2 separate regions of the Homo sapiens genome follow, and region 1 is linked to region 2. Evidence: promoter capture Hi-C in human tissues and cell types (Jung and others, 2019). All regions are on one chromosome and are shown on one strand. Each heading gives the region's core, a stretch centred on a gene start or on the middle of the fragment in contact. The rest is flanking DNA. Distances are from core to core; before and after follow the strand shown.

What was found. The method cuts DNA at HindIII sites, captures the fragments that hold promoters and counts their contacts. A contact is called where the count stands out against the background at its distance.
Region 1: a contact is called between a fragment that was not itself captured here and the fragment with the promoter of SMIM15 in region 2, in 1 of the 25 tissues and cell types used here (dorsolateral prefrontal cortex).

Annotation. Positions count from the first base shown.
Region 1 is chr5:61,829,896-61,836,759 of GRCh38, forward strand. It overlaps the pseudogene LOC643307. Among named protein-coding and RNA genes, the nearest start is that of LINC03123, 98 kb to the left of the region's middle. The HindIII fragment of the contact is 6,877 bases long and covers 1,925-6,864 here.
Region 2 is chr5:61,157,453-61,163,839 of GRCh38, forward strand. It overlaps SMIM15 (small integral membrane protein 15), which reads right to left and starts at 5,016. Exons shown (of 3, transcript NM_001048249.4): 1 at 4,765-5,016; 2 at 3,636-3,775; 3 at 252-2,747. The coding sequence starts at 2,719. The coding sequence ends at 2,495. SMIM15-AS1 (SMIM15 antisense RNA 1) reads left to right here and starts at 4,864. Exons shown (of 4, transcript NR_109908.1): 1 at 4,864-5,074. RefSeq lists enhancers at 4,183-5,079, 4,565-4,644, 4,715-4,974, 5,505-5,604, 5,645-5,704 and a silencer at 5,155-5,264. The HindIII fragment of the contact is 13,088 bases long and covers 1-6,387 here.

The DNA.
Region 1 (6,864 bases), core at 4,113-6,612, 670 kb after region 2:
CAATTTTAAGATGTGTTCAAATTGAGCACTGACATTTTGAATAATATATTCAAGAAGAACAAATCACCTGTAGGCCTGAGCTAAGTAGTACATGTGTTTTGAGGCACTGGGCGGGGGGTGGGGGAAGCATATATCTCAATTTTCATGACCATCTAGGTTCAGAAATTGGCAAAGAAAGAAGTTAGAATTCCTTTTTCATTTTGTTGGCAAAAGTTTCTTCCATGCCTGAAATTGCATGACTACCAGGCCTGGTGATCTGGATAAGAAGAGGTGGCACTCTAGTCTGCATGGCATGCAAGGGAAGCCTAACAAGCTTGGCAAATAGTGAGTGGCTCTGGGAAGAGCATGGGTGGAGGTGGGGGTCCATGCGGGCTCTGCCTGGACAAAAGCCCTAATGTCTGTGATCTCAGAGCTTTGCAAAGCATGGACATGAGGCAGACCTTCCATATGTGCTTGTTACATTCATTAAACAACACCAACAACCACCAGATGCCACAAGCACTTTATTGTGTTCCCTATGCTAGGGACCTTGCATGACATTTTATGTATATACATGTATATATCACCTCTCTTTTTACCACACCTTTAAAATGGCATTACTCCCATTTTAAAGGTAGGAAAATTGAGACCCCCACCAACTAGGGGCTTAATAATTTAATCACCACTATGTGATCTGCTGATACTATGCAGTGACATTTATAATCCTAGATTTGCCAGCCTTTTATGTTCCTAGCCCAGAGAAGTAACCAAAGGAGGGTAGCCAAGTAGCTATTTTGAGAAAGGGCACGTGCAGGCACTCTCTATTAGGATGCTGTGCCCCTGCTCACTGATGGCTCAGACAGTGGAAATTAGAGGACCCAAAAGCTCCTCTGCTTGTCGTCTGCAGCATGTTTTTACTGTTGATGAGCAGAATTCAGAGAGCCTGAGAATTGCATACTTAACAGAAGCTCATCCAAACCTATTTGGTCTGGATAATGGGCTGGAAATCAAGCTCTTGCTGAGAGTTTCTGGTTCAATCAAGTCAGAAAATTACATGAATCTCAATTTTTAAAATACATATGTTTTATAATATGATTGAAAGAGTACCTTGGACTTGAGTTTTTAACCAGCTAGTCCCCATTTCTCCAACCCTTACCCAGCATCAAAAAATTCACAGGGATTTATCCTAGAAAATTTAATTGTATTCAAGCTGCCAAGAAAGGAATACTTGCTTAAGGTACTTGGTCCATCAGAGGGAATCAAAAACAGGCTGACTTTATAGAAATATAGGAATTTTTATGTAAAAGTATGCCCACTAAACTATTTATTTTAATCTTGTTTTATCTTTTTTATTGCAGCACTTTATTTTTCCTTACACAATGACATGTTGCTGGGGCCTAATGTCCTCACATAACAGTAGAAAACAAAAATTTGTTTTCATTTCTTAAAGAATCCAGAATTGTGTACAAAAACTTTCATAAATTAAAAGGATGAATACACTTACAGGGGCGAATGCAAACCACTTCTAACTCAAGGCAAGCCACCGTGTTCTGGCAGGAAAACATCAGGTAAGAAAGGAAACTGGGTCCTAAGGCTTGGATTTCTCCAACCCTCATAGATCGGAAAGACAGAAAGGACAACTGGTTCAGAAGTTTTGTCAGCCTCTAGAGAAATCCTGAAGCACTCCATTCTGACACATTAATACCTGCACAGATTGAGAGACTGCTGGTCACGCGGACTCACCAAGCCACAGACTTCTCCTTCAAAAGCATGTTTTCACCTCAGCCATGAAGTGACTGAGCCACATGTACTAAGGGTTTACATCAAAGATATGTACAGGGTGTTAAACAAATACCAAGGGAACAATTAACTTGAATACAAGGTCAAAATCAGCAACAAATTCTATAATCCAGTGCCAATATTAGATACAAGCTTCAAGGACCAATTTCTTTTCAAAAGCTTATTCCAATTTTGTGAGGTTAGCATGTGGTGTATACATTTGCCTGGGGCAAATTTATACTTCTGAATTAACTCATGCAGCAAATGCTATGCATCTGCTCACAGTCCATTTAGAAGCATTTGCAGTGGATGATGGAGGGGCCAGCTCATCACACTACTGCTTGCTGATCTGCGTCAGCTGGAGGGAGGACAGCGAGGCCAGGATAAAGCCACCAATCCATTCCGAGTACTTGCCCTCAAGGGGAGTGGTGATCCTGATCCTCATGGTGCTGGGCGCCAGGGCAGTGACCTCCTTCTGCATCCTGTGAGTGATGCCCAGGTATATGATAGTGTCACCAGACAGCACTGTGTTGGCAAACAGGTCCTTGCAGATGTTCACATTATACTTCATGATGTAGTTGAATGTGGTCTCATGGATGCTACAAGATTCCACGCCCAGGAAGGAGGGCTAGACACTGGAACTGTTCATTGCCAGTGGTGATTACCTGCTGTGTGGAAGCCCCTAGTTCTTCTCCAGGGAGGAGCTGGAGGCTGTGGTGGCCATCTTCTCTGGAAGTCCAGGGAGAGATAGCACAGCTTCTCCTTGATGTTGTGCATGATTTCTTGTTCGGCTATGGAGGTGAAGCTGTAGCCTTGCTCTGTGAGGGTATTTGTAGGGTAGTCAGGTCCCAGCTAGCCAGGTCAGATGCAGGGTGGCATGCAAGAGGGCACAGCCCTGGTAGAGGGGCACCATGTTGGTGACCCCATCACCAGAGTTCATCATGGTGCCAGTGGTGCTGCCAGAGGCGTGCAATAAGCACAACCTGGATAGCCACCTGCATGGCTGGGATGTTGAAAGTCTCCAACATGATCTGGGTCATCTTTTCACGAGTGGCCTAGTGGTTCAGGGAGGCCTTGGTCAGCAGAACCAGGAGCTCCCCAGAGGTGATGCGCAGCTTGTTGTAGAAGATGTGGAACTAGATCTTCTCCATTTCATTGTATTTGGTGATGATGTCATGCTCAATGTGGTGCTTCAGGGTCAGGCTTTCATGCTTGCTCTGGGCCTAGTCACCAATGTAGGAGTCCTGGCCCATGCCCATCATCATGCCCTGGTGTCAGGGGTGCCCAACGATGGAGGGGGAACATGGGTTGGGGGACGTTGTGTCCAGCAAAGCCAGCTTTGCACATGCTGGAGCCATTGTCAATGACCAGCCCATGATCTCTTCTTTCACTGCTTTGGCCAAGGAGCCAGGTGTCCCGGCTGGGAGAGAACGTGGAGCATGGGCCAGTCCATTGGTGACTGAGCCTATTAGAGTCTTTAAAAATACTGTTTGTAGAAACTACAAATTGCAAAACAGAAGCTGCTGAAAGCAAAACCCTTCCCCTCTTTTCCCTAAAAAAGAAGGAAGGAAGGAAGGAAGGAAGGAAGGGAGAGAGGGAGGGAGGGAGGGAGGGAGGGAATGAATGAATGAAGGAAGGAAGGAAGGAAGGAAGGAAGGAAGGAAGGAAGGAACGAAAGAAAGGAAACAAGAACATTAAGAATGTAGTCAACTGTGTAAGTAATGGCCCCTCTCATAACTCTAGATCATTTTTCTCCCTATCAAAGGTACTAAATTATGTGAAAAGCCATCTCATCTACTATATACAAAGGAAGAGGGAGCATAAAACAAAAGAGAAGATCATACTAGTAGTTCAAATTCCTTAAGTGATGAGGATTTCTGGAAATATCAGTAAACAGAATCATGTTCTCCAAAAGGCTGAGCTTTCAGTTCAAAAACCCTGTAAAAGTCTCTTTTGGATTACCTGGTGAAGAGCTGCAACTTGAGTTGGAGTCAGCAGCTGGGAAGCCATAAAGTTTTCAATCTAGGCATTTTCCATTTTTTATGGCCTAGTTGGTATCTCTAAGGAAATTTGCAAAATTACTTCTAGTCATTTAGTTTTCTGAATCTGCATGAACCACACTCATTTACTTAGGCCAATATGTCTTAGCTCATATTGTTCTCTCATTATTTTTTCTATTTTTTAAAATTAGCATTTACCTATAGGAAAGACAATGAGGTCTTCTTTTGCCCTGAATTCAAGTCCTTCAAGGCTCTCAGAGTGTTACAACAAGCAGAAATCTTAGCAATGAAGTTATTACAAACCCTTGATTTTACAGGAGAGGAAACTAGGGTCAGAGTAGGTGTGAGACTTATCTATAATGATTTTCTAAATGATTTTAGACTTATCTATAATGATTATCTAAAATGATTTTCTGTAAAACATAAATTAGCATGGGTGGTGGAAAATGACAGGTCTCTGAAGTTAAACAGACTGTATAAGAGTCCCAGCTCTACCTGTTGCCTTTGTGGCCTCAGGCATAACCACATAACCATAATCTCTATAATGTCATCCATAAAATGGGGATAATAAAATACATATTAGGGGTTGTGTGGACTGGCTTAGGACAGGCTTTCAATAAATGTCCATTTTCTTTTTTTAAAAGACAAGACACCAAAACAAGTAAAATATCCAGGAGATTAAGATGGACAAATTTCCCAATTTATTTTAGGCCACATGAAAATGAGGCAGGACTTCTATTCCTAGTTGATCTCTGTAATTCTCTTAATTTTCTAAAAACCCCGTATCTCCACAGGAGCTCCACAGGAGCTCCCTGAAAAAAATATATTTCCACTAATAGAAGAACCTAGGGTTCTTACACTTCCCTTTTGGTGCCTGGGAAGTGGGTTTCCCTCATGCTGTGAGAGTGCAAGGACTCCTCGACATTGGCCTATATTACTTAGGATGTTGCTCAAGATCCAGAGGATGGGCCCCTTCGAATTTGATGAGCTTCATATAGTAATCATCAGAAATCAGGCTGAGCACTTGGTATGGAATCAGGAAAATTAGCAGATGGATGGACTGGTGTGAATACGAAACATAGCCTGATTTTGGAAGTAAGGAAGAAGAAAAGGAAGATACTGGCAATAATTGCCCTGTAAACATCATTTCCAATCATATTCATATATATACACATCTCTAAGTAGCAGGAGAGTGATGATATCAGGAACAATAAGTGATGTAGGCTTCAAAGAAACAAATCATTCCTGCACAATAGCTTTTTTTGACAGAGTTATGAATAGATGAAGGGGAAATGCAAGAGATGTAATATATCTTATGTTGGTAAAGACGATATGTCTCAGGAAATTTTATTTGCAAAATTAGCTACAAGATCACAAAGAAAGTTTATTGATAAATTGCAAAGTTTCTGGTCGTAGGGAGCTGCAGAAATGGCTGTTGGGGATGCTCTTATTTAACACCTTCATCATTAATTTGGAAGAAGGAGTGAATCCCTCCCTGTGTTCATGAAAATTACAGTTTATACTAAATCAGGACGTGGTGTGAACACTGATTAGCCAGAGACTGACACAAAGGGGTCCCAAAAGGGGATAATTGGACAGACGCAAGAGCTAACTGAGGAAAGTGTCTTAAGGTGTGTTTTGATTTACCTTTCTTCACAGAGAACTGAGTTAGAATCTGACAGCAAAGCAGGGCCACACAGACTTGGAGGAAGAGGTGGACAATGGAAAAGAATCTGTTAGGTACAAACTCATGGGGACTAGTATTTGGCGGGGGCCCACCCTGTGCAAAGTTCTGCACTCAGACTTCCACAATCTGAGAGGGTGCTCAGAGGAGACTCAAAGAAGTTAAAAATCCCAGAATAGAAAAGAAACTCAAAATTTTTCATAATCCAACCATTCCCCAGTGATTATAATTTGACATAAATTTGACTCCCTTGACTTCTAGGAATGATATGGTTTGGCTGTGTCCTCACCCAAATCTCATCTTTAATTGTATCTCCCAGAATTCTCATGTGCTGTGGGAGGGACCCAGGGGGAGGTAATTAAATCATGGGGGCCAGTCTTTCCTGTGCTATTCTCATGATAGTGAATAAGTCTCATGAGATCTGACCGGTTTATCAGGGGTTTCGGCTTTTGCTTCTTCCTCATTCTCTCTTGCTGCCACCATGTAAGAAGTGCCTTTCACCCTCCTCCATGATTGTGAGACCTTCCCCAGCCACGTGGAACTGTAAGTCCAATTAAACCTTTTTCTTTTGTAAATTGCCCAGTCTCGGGTATGTCTTTATCAGCATTGTGAAAACAGACTAATACACCCAGTAAGTATAATTTGACATAAACTTAACTACTTCTAGGAGCTTGGATTCCATAGTAGCACAGAAATCCCACGGCAGATGATCAATTGTGTACTGAGATATGTCTGTATACAAACAACATATACAAAAATAACTTTTTTCAATCTTCGTAATTAATATGGGGGAAATGAAGCAAGGTTCTAAATGAACTGTGGCAGGTAGCTCAAGAGAGAGATGGTGGAAGGTGTTCTTGTGACACAATTTGCAGCCACATTTGATTGAGAGAGTTCGTGAATCACATCAGAAGAGGCTAGCTGATGATTTGCTGTTGTACTCAAGTCCCACAGGATTTTGAAAACAAATCAAGAGAGAGCAGGTTTGTTTGTGATAGTGAAGAATGTGAAAGAGCAGTGGACTTGGAGATAGTTCTGGCTGTTCCTCTGACCAAGCCAATTCGGGAAAGTCACTTCCCATCCTGGACATTGATGATCTCATCTTTAAAATGAGAAAGGTGGGCTAGTCTAGGATTCATGAACTCAAATTTCTTCAGGGTCCAGATAAATAATGTAAACATGTAAAGTTTCCACAGGTAGTGGTAGGTCTTGTAGGAATTGGAGAGTTATCACACCAATTTTGGGAATTCAAAACTTGGAAAGCTTTGTACTGTTTAAATAAAACATCTCTGTTCACGGATGATATGGTTTGCCTGTGTACCCACCCAAATCTCATCTTGAATTGTAGCTCCCACAACTCCCGCGTGTCATGGTAATTACCTCCCAGTAATTGAATCATGGGGGCAGGTCTTTCCCATGCTG
Region 2 (6,387 bases), core at 3,766-6,265:
CCATACCCAGCTAATTTTTGTATTTTTAGTAGAGACGGGGTTTCATCATGTTGGCCAGGCTGGTCTTGAACTCCTGACCTTGTGATCTGCCTGCCTTGGCCTCCCAAAGTGATGGGATTACAGACATGAGCCACCGCACCCGGCCTCCTGTGCTTATTTCTAGTTTGCTTATTATAAACAAGTAAAATTTAAAATGTCCTTATATATCTGATAACTAGTAATATGCTGAAAGTTATCATGGATACTATGGCTCAAGTTCTGACATACAAACTTTTATTTATTTGCTGATTTTTGATAAAATGTTTGTTAGAGGCAGCCAGGGGACAGCTTTCTTTCTCCCCCAAGACCAGCTTTAGAATGGTAATTGATTGTACTTAGTTCTCAGAACTTCAGAAACAATGTAATAAGTAAACAATTTCTTAAAAGTATTCTAGATAATAGCAAATGGGATTCTTTAACAACAGTACTCTGTTGCAGTGAGAGGTGATTTTTCTGAAGAATCCCAAACCTCACAATATTCTCTATACTCCAGCCCCTTACACACACACACACACACACACACACACACACACTGTAAAGTATGAATCTCACATATATAGAAAGGCTCTCTAAATGATGGAAAAAAGTGGAAAAAAAAAGCATATGTCAAACAAATACAAAACTGGCATGTGTTAAGACTAATAAATTATAGAAAAACAGACCTTTAAATACCTTTAAGTTGTTACAACAGAACTGATGAAACCATAACTTTAGTAGGTAACTGAGAATTATGACTATATCCTTTGCTTCAATACTTTTACTCTAAAATGTGACCCTAAGTAAAACATGTACATAAATTCTTTCCATGAACAGCTTGATTGCAGAAAACCAAACATATTATAGATATATCTTAACACTGAATAATTTCAGTGCCTTGAGTTATAATGTGTTGCTCACACTGGCACCAAGTAGAGACTGATAATCTAAAAGAATAGCATTAAGTGTTATTCAAACTGGTCCATAAACATTCTCAGTGGTCCTTAGGTTCTGAGAGATACAGTCCTGAAATTTTACAAGTATGCTTAGCTGTAACTGAAATTCTAACTTGCATAACATAATGTAACTTAAAATGTTAGTTCCTCCAAAAAAAAAAAAAAAATCCAGGACCTCTTTATAAAAAATTATCAAATTTATTTTAATGTCTAGTTTCATTTTTAAACTGTAGCTGCTAGACAATTTTTTGTAATTTAAAATTCATTAATGGGTACAGAAAACATTAATAAGCTGACAGTGAATTAAATACTAACAGTGAATAAAATTATTGGACCATGCATTTATAAAAGCCATGTTTAATAGTAAAACGTTCCAGTTCTACTAAACTGAAAGAAACATCCTTTAGCTCCCTACTTCCAATTACAGCACATTCTCATTTTGATATAATTTATCCTTTTCACCCAATCACTACTATGCCCAACAAAATGTTTCCAAATTTTATACCTTTCTTTACCACTTATGAAGTATGGCGTAACTGTTACACTTTAAGAGTTCTTTAAAAGAAATGTGAAATTTAACGTTTTACTTTGAACCTGTTTGATCAGAAAGTATTAAATATCACTACCACATGAGTTAAAACAAAGAATGAAATAAAAAACAAATGGTGTCTTTGTAATCGGCGAATTACTTGATAAGACATTTTAACTATTTTACAGTTCTGCTTAGCACAAGAATAAACTGGGTTCCAAGGTACTACAGTGTTTGGCATTTTTACTGCAAGCTTTAAACCATAGTGTTACTCCTCTCAAGCCATCTCTAAGAAAATGGCAGTGTTTGTGAGTACAAAAATTGTTCTGTCCAGTAGGTGGTATTCTACATAGTCGAGATAAGAGAATTCTTTATAAAATTATGTTTTAAAAAATGGAAAATGACTTATAATTACCAGCTGTCTCAAAGGCTGTAATAAGAAAAATGCAGCAAATAGAAGTACTCATTAATATTATTTTGTTTTGAGAAAGCCAGAAATGATTCTAAGAAATAAACAATAATAATAAAAGATGTAATTAATATACTGTATCCCTTTTAAGCCAAAGCACACTTTTTACCTCAAGACTGTTCTGACTTTTACATTCTTAATTTCCTTTGTCCAAAATAGGACCCCATTTTAAATAGAGTTCATTTGAATTGAGTTCATAATCTAAAGTCACTTTTCCCCACAAGATGTTTTCATTTCAGTATATAAACTGCTAAGCGGCAAATGACTAAGTCAGTTATAAAGAATTTGTACCACAGTAAATGCTAATTTACAATAACTGTCAATAGAAACCTATAAACTTCTACACCCACGCCTAAAAGTTACTATAGTATTGAGGTCAGAACTAACATGATTCTTCCATTTGGTCAAATTTCATTTACTAAATCATACTGTCAAGAAATCCAAAGAAGAAACTTTAGTGGATTCTTCCAAAGCTGTGTAATTTTCCAAATGATTTTCCTCTGGTTGCAAAGCCTGTTCAGTCCTTCAATCCTTTTTTAGTCGTTTAGCTTTTGCAATGTTTTCTTGGCGTTTTTGCTTCTTCTTTTGCTCCTTCTCCCTGGCCTCAATCATCTTGGCCAATTTCCAAGACAGTACAGCACTTGCTAGGAACAGTGGAGTAAGGGCCAAAATAACGGTTGTAAGGAAGCCATAGGGGTCCTTTGCAGCCCATTCCACAACATACTCAGCCCAAGCCTTTATATCAAACATCTTCACAGCAGTCTTATGAAAACTGGGGCTGGGGGAGGCGGGTGGAGAACACAGAGGAAAAAAACAGGAGAAAAGACTATGTGGTTAATCAAATTTTGAAAAAGTTTCCTCACACAACCAGTTAACTCAGGATTCCATTATCACTCAGTTTGCTTTTTTAAAAAGTACAACTTAGTACTATTGTAATAAGGACTAGTATCTCTGGTTAGGAAAAAGTAATTCATCTAGTACAGCCAGAATAGTGACACTTCAAAGAGGTAAAGTTATAGAAGATTTAAAAAAGCCATGTGACTCTGTCATAAGGACTATGCATTCTCACATGCCTCCTATATTCAAGACAAACTTTATTTAGGAGGAGGCTTTTATAAAAATCTTGAGTTTTCTGTGGTCATTCCAGGAAACAGCTGAATACAGTTTGTCATTTTTTGACATATCCTTAGTATTACTAATTAACAAAAATACAAATCAGCAAATTTGGTGTTTGAAAAGGACAAGCAACAGAGCATGTGAAATGCTCGCAGAGAAGGAGAGATGACTATTTCCCCGAATGGGAAGGAGAGGGTAAGGGAGTCATGACATCGCATTAATATGCCAAAGAAGCAAAAAGTACTGTGCTATTTTATGCCCTTTCAGCTTTGAGGACCTCTGTTGGAATAAGCCTAATTTAATAAATGAGAAAGTAGCCTTAACAGATGCCATGTGTTTTGTTCCTTTTTGAGTGTAAGGAAAAGGCAACTGGCAAATGAGGATTATGTGACTTGAGTGACGTTTTCTATTTTGCCCCAGAGGCTTTTCTCCCTTTCATGTTTGTGTCAACCGCTATTCAAAGTGGAGAATTAGAATACCTGGGTAGGGAATGAGTGTATATACATCCACTTACAATTTCAACTGGAATTTTTTTAAAAAAATCATCTACCTTATGCTTGAGTAGTGATCCCTTAACTTTGTCCTGGTGTTATTAGTGACCCAATCACGACTTCAGATGACCCTTGGTAGTCTGTCTTCTTGAGTTCTACTGTACACATCTGAGAGACGGTTTAAATTCTGTACAATTGGCTAGTTGGAAAGAATACAAAAAATAAAACAAAATTTAAGTCACAATTTCAGGATAATTGTAATAAAATTTTAAATGGAAAATTTCTATATTGTATATATGCAACCTATATGACATCTAAAATTGCCTATCCGGTATAGTAACTTAATACGTTTCTTCCTCATTTGAATTTACAATTGCAAATGCCCTGTAAGAAAATCCTAATTACTGGAAATCAAGTATTTTACTAAGTTACTTATTTCAATAATAAAATTTTTTTAGTTCATTGACATACGGGAGACAAGTTGGCTCACTGACTGACTTACACAGCGTATCCGTTCCTAGATTTTCAATTTTTATACTAAAAATGTTGCCACTCATTTATTTACTGGATTAGGTACACCACTACAAAATCAAACAGCTCATCTTACTCTTTATAAAGGTTTTTTTGGGTCCATCATACAATTTGTGTCCTTTACTTAAAAAATTAGAAGACATAACCAAACAAATTATAGTAATTCACCCACAGTCCCATTACCCCAAGAAAACTGTGACTAGTTTTAATTATATCTTCCCCACGATTTTCAACTGAACACACATGAAAGTGCCTAATACGTTAAATATCTTAGCTCCTGGACTTCATACGACCTCACCCATACAGTTAGAATTAGGTACTACTGAGATCGATCTGCCTTCACCTTCTCCAGCCCAGTAGCGAATAAACAATGTAAGTTTCAGAAATAAGCAAAAGAACTTTGCAGTAAAAGAGCCATGGTCCACAGGCCACACATCTCCCTGCAACTCAACTTCGGACCCAAACGCTCGCGCCTCCACACTTTCAGGAATAAATCCTACTCTTCCGCCCAAAACGGATCGACCAGGCTCGATCTCCCAACCAGACCCGCGTGGCCCCTGCGGCTGCAACGGGTAGCACTTGACGGCCGTCCGCACTTCCTCCTTTGTCTTTCCCTTATTCCTTACGTTTCTCCCTTGCTCACTCTTCCCTCCTTACCCTATCGGGGCTGCAGACCCACGGAGGCCACGTTCACTCCTGCCCGTCGGCCTTGGCAAGCGCGGGCCCCTTGTCGCGCAGAGCGGAGGGTCCTGGGAGATCCTGGGTTGGCCCAGCCACACCTTGCGCCGCCGCCGTTTCTGCTGGACACCAGGAGAAAACCACGGCAGCTGCAGCCACCAACTTCCCCTACATAGCCCCACGGGATCGGATCCCACTCCCCACTCACCGCCAGACCGGAAGCAGGAAGGCGGAAGTCGCGGCCTTTGCGTCCCGCCCACAGGCGACCCGAGCCGCCAGCCGGGCGTGAGTAAGTCTAGGGCCCAGTTTCCGGCTGCGCCATTGCTGTGTGGGTCTTGGGACCTCGAGTTGGAGGACGCGGGAGGGTGGGGGCGGGGGCAGGGCAGCGCTGAGATTTCCGGGGAGCGGCAGGTGAGGCCGCGCGGGGCGGGTGACGGCACCCGGGCGGGCTCCTTTCCAGGCTGGAGCCCGAGACTGCCACGTCCTGCGGGGACCAAGTGGTGGGCGAGGAGGCGTGGAGCGGCTTCAGGACTCGAGGAGCGGTTCCGAAGCAGCTAGGGACTTTTGCCTTTGCCCCCCGAGGTCGATCGGAAGACAACCCCCATCCCCTGCTGTAGCGGGACAGTTGGAGGGTCATGGGTGGGTGAAGTGTTTGGCTGAGGGAAACTCAGACCAAAGAGCAGCGGCAAGAAAGCAGTTGGGTCCCCACAAAACGCCCGAAGTCAAGGTGAGGGTCACACAACGACTCTTGACGATTCCGGCGAGTTCATCCTGGTGCACATCCCACTCCATGCCTCTCTCTTCTGGTTGGACAATAGTTACATCCTTACGAAAAGGAGGCAAGCTACTGGGCCTTGGTGGATCCACTCAACCTTGTTACCAAGGGACATGCCGCCATGCTATGTGAAAAGGGGGGTTTTGTTGTTTGTTTTTAATTTAAGTATCTAATTCGTTTCACGAAAGAATGATCAATACCGGCCCAGAGTAAACTTGATAAGTAATTAAACTGTCAGGGCATAGAGTTCCCATAGAGGTGCTTGTTCTTTCAATACACAAATAAAGGGATGCAAAAGTCAACATGCAGAAAGGGTGAGTTAATATTGTCTTCTAATCTACAGGAACTGAAAGATTAGCTAATCTGGTTTGGTTGGTGACCAAATTTTGTGATTGCTTGCACTGTTTGACTACCTCTGACAAATGTTGCAAGACCTCTTCACTGATTCTCCAAAGACTATAGAATGTTCTCTTTCAGGAGCAAGCTGCGACATGTTTAACTAGTTTAGGTAAAACAACAATAACTGTTATTTACCAGGGAACAGGCTTTTGGCAGATAATCTAACGATCTACGATACTGTTCGTTGGGCATATGTTAATGTTTGTAATGTTGTATTACCAGCAGTTGTTTTCTTACTCCTTTTTATTTGAAAACCTGGATGATAGTTTCAAAGCCTATGCTGCTTAGGCCTAGCCTGTACCTTAGTAGCCAGAAAAAGTAGACTCAGTCACTGGATTGTGTGCACTGAATACTTACTTGAGATAACTGATTTTTCTAAAACTTCCCCAAGTCTTGAATCCAAGATGTGGGCAGAATGTATTATTTTA